2 separate regions of the Homo sapiens genome follow, and region 2 is linked to region 1. Evidence: promoter capture Hi-C in 16 types of primary human blood cells and fetal thymus (Javierre and others, 2016). All regions are on one chromosome and are shown on one strand. The core of a region is centred on a gene start or on the middle of the fragment in contact, and the rest is flanking DNA. Distances in the headings are between cores, read along the strand shown. Region 1 holds the start of HAUS5 (HAUS augmin like complex subunit 5). Region 2 overlaps CD22 (CD22 molecule).

What was found. Contacts are between HindIII fragments. The CHiCAGO score rates a contact against its expected background, and 5 or more counts as called.
Region 2: a contact is called between a fragment that was not itself captured here and the fragment with the promoter of HAUS5 in region 1, in 1 of 17 cell types (M1 macrophages). The highest score is 6.0, in M1 macrophages.

The regions. Positions count from the first base shown.
Region 1 is chr19:35,610,735-35,614,002 of GRCh38, forward strand. It overlaps HAUS5 (HAUS augmin like complex subunit 5), which reads left to right and starts at 2,001. Exons shown (of 19, transcript NM_015302.2): 1 at 2,001-2,158; 2 at 2,996-3,058; 3 at 3,134-3,166. The coding sequence starts at 2,061. HAUS5-DT (HAUS5 divergent transcript) reads right to left here and starts at 1,930. Exons shown (of 2, transcript NR_186318.1): 1 at 1,884-1,930. RefSeq lists enhancers at 1,735-2,290, 1,879-2,138. The HindIII fragment of the contact is 7,658 bases long and covers 1-3,268 here.
Region 2 is chr19:35,333,619-35,336,868 of GRCh38, forward strand. It overlaps CD22 (CD22 molecule), which reads left to right. Exons shown (of 14, transcript NM_001771.4): 4 at 2,418-2,723. Among named protein-coding and RNA genes, the nearest start is that of CD22, 6.1 kb to the left of the region's middle. The HindIII fragment of the contact is 4,678 bases long and covers 1-3,250 here.

The DNA.
Region 1 (3,268 bases), core at 751-3,250:
ACAGATGATTATTTTATTTTGGTTTGGTTTTGTTTTGGCTTTGAGACAGGGTCACCCAGGCTGGAGTGCAGTGGTGCCATCATAGCTCACTGAAGCCTCAACCTCCCAGGCTCAACTGATCCTCCTGTTTCAACCCCCCAAGTAGATGGGACTACAAGCGTGCACCACCACGCCTGGCTAATTTTTTTTAATTTTTAATAGAGACAAGGTTTTGCTGTGGTGCCCAGGTGGGTCTCAAATTCCTAGCCTCAAACATTCCTCCCACCTCAACCGCCCGAAGTGCTGGGATTACAGGCATGAGCCACCACGCCCAGCCATTGCCTTATAATTTTTTACTGATGTCAGATATTGTTAATTTTACAGTGTTGGATGCTGGATTTTTTTTAATCTCTATAAATATTCTTGAATTTTGTTCTGGAATGCAGCTAAATAATAGCTTGATCCTTTCGGGCCTTGCTTTTAAGCATGGTTGGTTAGTCAGCATCAGAGAAGTATTTCATCTAGGGCAGGGGCAGGGGTCTCCAAACCCCAAGCCGTGAACCAATACAAGTCCATGGCCTGTTAGAAACCAGGCTGCACAGCAGGAGGTGAGTGGCGTATGGGTGAGCATCACTGCCTGAGCTCCACCTCCTGCCAGATCAGGAGCGGCATTAGATTCTTACAGGAGCGCAAACCCTATTGTGAACTGTGCATACGAAGGATCTAGATTGCGCACTCCTTATGAGAATCTAATGCTTAGGCGGGGCATGGTGGCTCACACCTGTAATGCTAGCACTTTGGGAGGCTGAGATGGGCTGATCACTTAAGGTCAGGAGTTCAAGACCAGCCTGGCCAACATGGTGAAACCCCGTCTCTACTAAAAATACAAAAATTAGCTGGGCATGGTAGCGGGCGCCTGTAATCCCAGCTACTCAGGAGGCTGAGGCAGTAGAATCGCTTGAACCCCGGAGGCAAAGATTGCGCTGAGCCGAGATCGGGCCACTGCACTCCAGCCTGGGTGAAAGAGGGAGACTTCACCTCAAAAAAAAAAACAGGGAAGAAAAAAAAAAAGAGAGAGAGAGACAGAGAATATAATGCCTCACGACCTGAAGTGGAACAGTTTCATCCCGAAACCATCCACTGCTCCCACCCTCCATCCCCCAGACTGTGGAAAAATTGTCTTCCATGAAACCAGTCCCTGATGCTCAAAAGGTTGGGGACTGCTGGTCTAGCGCAGACCTCTCACACCTGCTGTGTCCCAAATTGACCCACCCCTGCTGCTTATTTTTACCACCCCTACCTGGTGGTGCGTCTGTCTCCCCACTCAACTGTGAGCTCCGTACAATAGGGACCAGGGCTGTTGTGGTCACCATGGTGTCCCCAGCATCACCCAGCACAGGGTCAGCTCCCTGAGTTTATGGAATGGTAAGCACGAATGAATGGGAAAACGCATGCCAGGGAAATGTTAGGGTCATGCTCTCTGCCCCTACCCTCCACTCAGACATGAGACACCTGTTTCTGAAATCAAAGAGCAGTAAGTCCAGGATCTCATTGCCTGGTTCCAGTCCTCCTAGGACGCAAGTCCCATTTTGTCAAGAAAATAAAGGGGGTGAGCGTGGTGGCTCACGCCTGTAATCCCAACATTTTGGGAGGCCGAGGCGGGAGGATCGCTTGAGCCCAGGAGTTCAAGAGCCCAGAAGCTGAGACTAGCCTGGGCAACAAGTGAGATCCCATCTCTATTAAAATAAAAGTGTTTAGTTAAAAGAAGAAAAAGAAAATAAATGGAAGCATCAAGGACTGTTTTGCCTCTTTCGGGTTAGCTGGTAGTGAGCGGGAGAACGAGGGAAGGCGGGCGGGGCTGCAGTCTCTCCACGCCCTTTTCATTTCCACTCAAGGAGACCTACCTGGGAAGAGTGAGCGCTGCAAGACCCAGCCTGACCGCGCTAAGATTACTATGCAGCGCCCGAGCCCGCTGTCTGCCCGGCAACCGATGACGTCACTGTTGGCGCGCCCGTGACGTCAGAGGCGGGCGCCACACTTGAAGAGGCTGAGGGAGGCGGTGTCGCCGCCGCGGCGCTGTCATGGAGCTAGCGCAGGAAGCGCGGGAACTGGGTTGCTGGGCGGTCGAAGAGATGGGGGTGCCCGTGGCGGCCCGGGCCCCGGAATCGACGCTGCGCAGGTGAGGACCGCTCCTGGAGTGAGGACACCCCACCCTGGAGATTGAGTCTCCGGGAGTGAGAACTCCACCCCTCATTGAGGACTCGACTCCCCCCAATTCCCCATCGAGAGTGACCCGACTTACTGAGGGCTCCCTACCCTGGGAGGCTCCCCAGAGTGAGGTCCCTAGCACTGGTGAGGATCCTCCACGAGTTAGCTAAGACCTCGCTCCTTATGGAAATAGGATCTCCAGAGTGAGGCTGTCCCCGCAGCACCTCCCCTCCCTCCCTTAACCTAACCAAGAAGGACACTCAGGAGTTAGCCGTGGCCACCCCATCGGGGATTGAAGCTGTAGGAGTGATGCCCCACGTCTGGTCATGAGATGGCACTTCCTGGCAGTACATCCCCCACCTCCACCTCTGGATGTGACTGGGATAACCCACTCCCAGGAGAAAGGGAGCACCCGCCTCTCCCGCGCTCCCCCACCACCCGCCTTCCCAGGGAATGAGAATAACACCACACTTAGTGCAAACATCCAGTCCCTACAAAAAAAATGTTTTACCAATTAGCCGGGTGTAGTGGTGCCTGCCTGTAGTCCTAGCTACTCTGGAGGCTGAGGTGGGAGGATCGCATGAGCCCAGGAGGTTGAGGCTGCAAGGAGCTATGATCGTACCACTGCGACAGAGCGAGACTGTCTCTTAAAAAAAAAAAAAAAAAAAAGGCAAAAAAAAGTTTGGGCCTTCCCTCCTCAAGAAGTGAGAACTCCCTAGTAAAAACTCCCTACCACCATCACCCTAGGAATGAGGATCCCACACCCTGTGTGCTGCCCCAGGCATATGCTTACACACTGTCCCCACAGGCTGTGTCTGGGCCAGGGGGCTGACATCTGGGCCTACATCTTGCAGCATGTGCACAGTCAGAGGTAAGCTGGGCTAGAGCAGGGGAGGGGGCACAGGTGAGGCCCATAGTAACTCCTCTTTCTGCCTCTGCACTGTAGGACTGTCAAGAAGATCCGGGGAAACCTACTCTGGTAACTGCTTCTTAAAGCTATCCCCTCCTGTCTTCCCCACTCCCATTTAGCCCTGTCCCCACCACAGCATCACACCTATTGCCCTCCCCCCTAGAAGCCCCA
Region 2 (3,250 bases), core at 146-2,645, 280 kb before region 1:
GCGATCTCAGCTCACTGCAGCCTTGATCTCCCGGGTTCAAGCAATCCTCCCACCTCCAAAGTAGCTAGGATCACAGGTGCATGCCACCATGCCCAGCTAACTTTTTAATTTGTTGTAGAAATGGGTCTTGCTATGTTGCCAGGCTGGTCTTGAACTCCTGGCCTCAAGCAATCCTCCTGCTTCAACCTCTCAAAGCATTAGGATTACAGGCATGAGTCACCGCACCCGGCCTGATCTTCTGATTTTTCAAGAGACGATGGAAATCTAGATTTTCCAGTGAAATCTCCCAGCATGTTAATGTTCATGGCAAGTTCTCATGAGCTCTTCAAGGTCAGATGACACTGTTGTTGAACCCCAAAGGCCAGGTTTGAGCTCCCGATGCGTAGTCAGCCAAACACTGACACCTCAGTGCTTAGAAGCTGAGATAGGATTATTTAATTTAGCCAAAGCAAGGGGACAGAAGAGAGAAACTCTCAAATCTGACCTGACTTTGAGCGTTAGTGGGGGCTTTTATGAGTAAAGTAGGTGTGCAGGAGGTGACCTCCCGATCGTCAAAGCTGTTGTGCCCCTCGGCTCATCAAATTTCTGGATGTCATCAAGGAGGTCTGTGTGACCTAAGGATCATTGTTCTTTGAAAGAGAGACAAGTTCATTTATCTTGCAGGCAGCTGCCAGGGAGTCAGGATGTAAGTTAAACAATTATGAGTGAATTAATGGTTACCTGCTACTGAAATGACCAAATGTAACTAATCATGCATGGAGGAAGGAAAGGACAAAGAGAAAAGAAAAGAAGTAAAACGAACATCTTATAATTTTTATAACATAGGTTCAGTTATAGCACTGCACATGTAGGGGTGGCTTTGACCCATCAAACACAGGTGTGGGGGGCCCCTGCCACAGGGAGTGTGGTCACTCCGTTCCACACCGTTTCCCGGATGGGCAGTTCTGAGCAGCCTTAAATTTGGGGTGAGCAATGCAACTTCAGACCCCGCTGTCTGAAGGAGGTGGTCCAGCCTTGGGGAGAGCTGAGGCTGGGTGCACACAGACCCACTCCACTAAAGGAATGCGGTGCGTGGATGGCTGCAATACTGAAGGAAGCCATGAAAGTAACACAAGTTTGTCAAAGCTGAAAAGTCCGTGAACTAAACTGATAAAATTCACTTAGAGGTGGTGGGAATAGGCCGGGCACGGTGGCTCACGCCTGTAATCCCAGAACTTTGGGAGGCCGAGGCAGGCGGATCACAAGGTCAGGAGATCGAGACCATCCTGACTAACACAGTGAAACCCTGTCTCTACTAAAAATGCAAAAAGTTAGCCAGGCGTGGTGGCAGGCGCCTGTAGTCCCAGCTACTCAGGAGGCTGAGGCAGGAGAATGGCGTGAACCCGGAAGGTGGAGCTTGCAGTGAGCTGAGATCACGCCACTACACTCCAGTCCGGGCGACAGAGCGAGACTCTGTCTCAAAAAAAAAAAAAAAAAAAAAAGAGGTGGTGAGGTGGTGGGAATAGAACTTTGCAATCATTCAGAAAGCAGACATCCGGCAATGAGCATGAAAGAAAAGTAGATCACAGTTCCCAAGGAGGCTTAGTGTGGTCAAGGCCTTTCAGAGGGGATTTCGGGTGAGCAAAAGTGATTCAAAGTGGAGAAAAGCAGGACTGCGTTGGGTGCAGTGGTTCCCGCCTGTAACCCCAGCACTTTGGGAGGCTGAGATCGGAGGATCGTTTGAGCCCAGGAGTTTGAGACCAGCCTGGGTAACATGGCAAGACCCTGTCTCTACAAAATGTTTAAAAAACTAGCTAGGTGTGGTGGCACATGCCTGTAGTCCCAGTTACTCAGGGGGCTGAGGTGAGAGGATTGCTTGAGCCTAGGAGGTTGAGGCTACAGTGAGCTAGGATTGCGCCACTGCACTCCAGCCTGGGTGACAAAGCAAGACCCTGTCTCTAAAGAAAAAAAGAGGCCGGGTGTGGTGGCTTACACCTGTAATCCCAGCACTTTGGGAGGCCAAGGCGGGAGGATCACTTGAGGTCAGGAGTTCAAGACCAGCCTGGCCAACATGGCGAAACCCTGTCTCTACTAGAAATACAGAAAAATTAGCTGGGTGTGGTGGTGGGCACCTGTAATCCCAGCTACTCGGGAGGCTGAGGCAGGAGGATCACTTGAACTGGGGAGGTAGAGGTTACAGCGAGCCAAGATCGCGCCACTGCACTCCAGCCTGGGTGACAGAGGGAAACTCCATCTCAAAAAAACAACAACACAACAACAACAACAATAACAACAAAAAAACAAAGCAGGACTGGAGAGAGGTGGAATGAAGTGGCAAGGGGTTCCTGAGGGGTGATTTGGGACAGGACATCTAAAGCCAGGTGTACGCTCACGTCCTCAGTCCCCCAGGCTCCTGCACGGGCTCTGTTCTTTTGCAGAAAGGCCTTTTCCACCTCATATCCAGCTCCCTCCAGAAATTCAAGAGTCCCAGGAAGTCACTCTGACCTGCTTGCTGAATTTCTCCTGCTATGGGTATCCGATCCAATTGCAGTGGCTCCTAGAGGGGGTTCCAATGAGGCAGGCTGCTGTCACCTCGACCTCCTTGACCATCAAGTCTGTCTTCACCCGGAGCGAGCTCAAGTTCTCCCCACAGTGGAGTCACCATGGGAAGATTGTGACCTGCCAGCTTCAGGATGCAGATGGGAAGTTCCTCTCCAATGACACGGTGCAGCTGAACGTGAAGCGTGAGTCTCCCCGGCATGCCTGTGGGAAGGGCAAGGTCTGTGTCACCTTCTCCCCAGCCCCGCAGGGGGCATGCACCCAGGGCAGGGGGAAGCCTGCACAGACGGCGGCATCCTCCAGCCCTGGTCACGCCGCCTTGTCAGCCCTGGTGTTTCGGGAAAAAGATTTGCTCTAGCCTAACAGAATAAAATGGTCCATCCTCAAGCCATGACATGAATTGGGGATTATCTGGTTAGGTCTTTTTGTTCCCCTCTTGGTGGGGATTTTTTTCGCATCATTATCTTGTGCCTCATTCATTCAATAAATACGTATCATGAACCTACTAGGTACCAGGCCTTATTACGGCTGCCAATGGGGGGCATGGGGCGGTGGGCAGGGTGCAGCAGTGAGCAAAACTCTTGCCCCACGCGGAGCCAGCGCTGCAGTGAAAGAGACAGACAACAAATGGATTACCAAAGAAATACAGAGCATGAGCCAAGACATTAGAATCTGGAACAAAGCAATGTTAACAAAGAAATATACAACACTA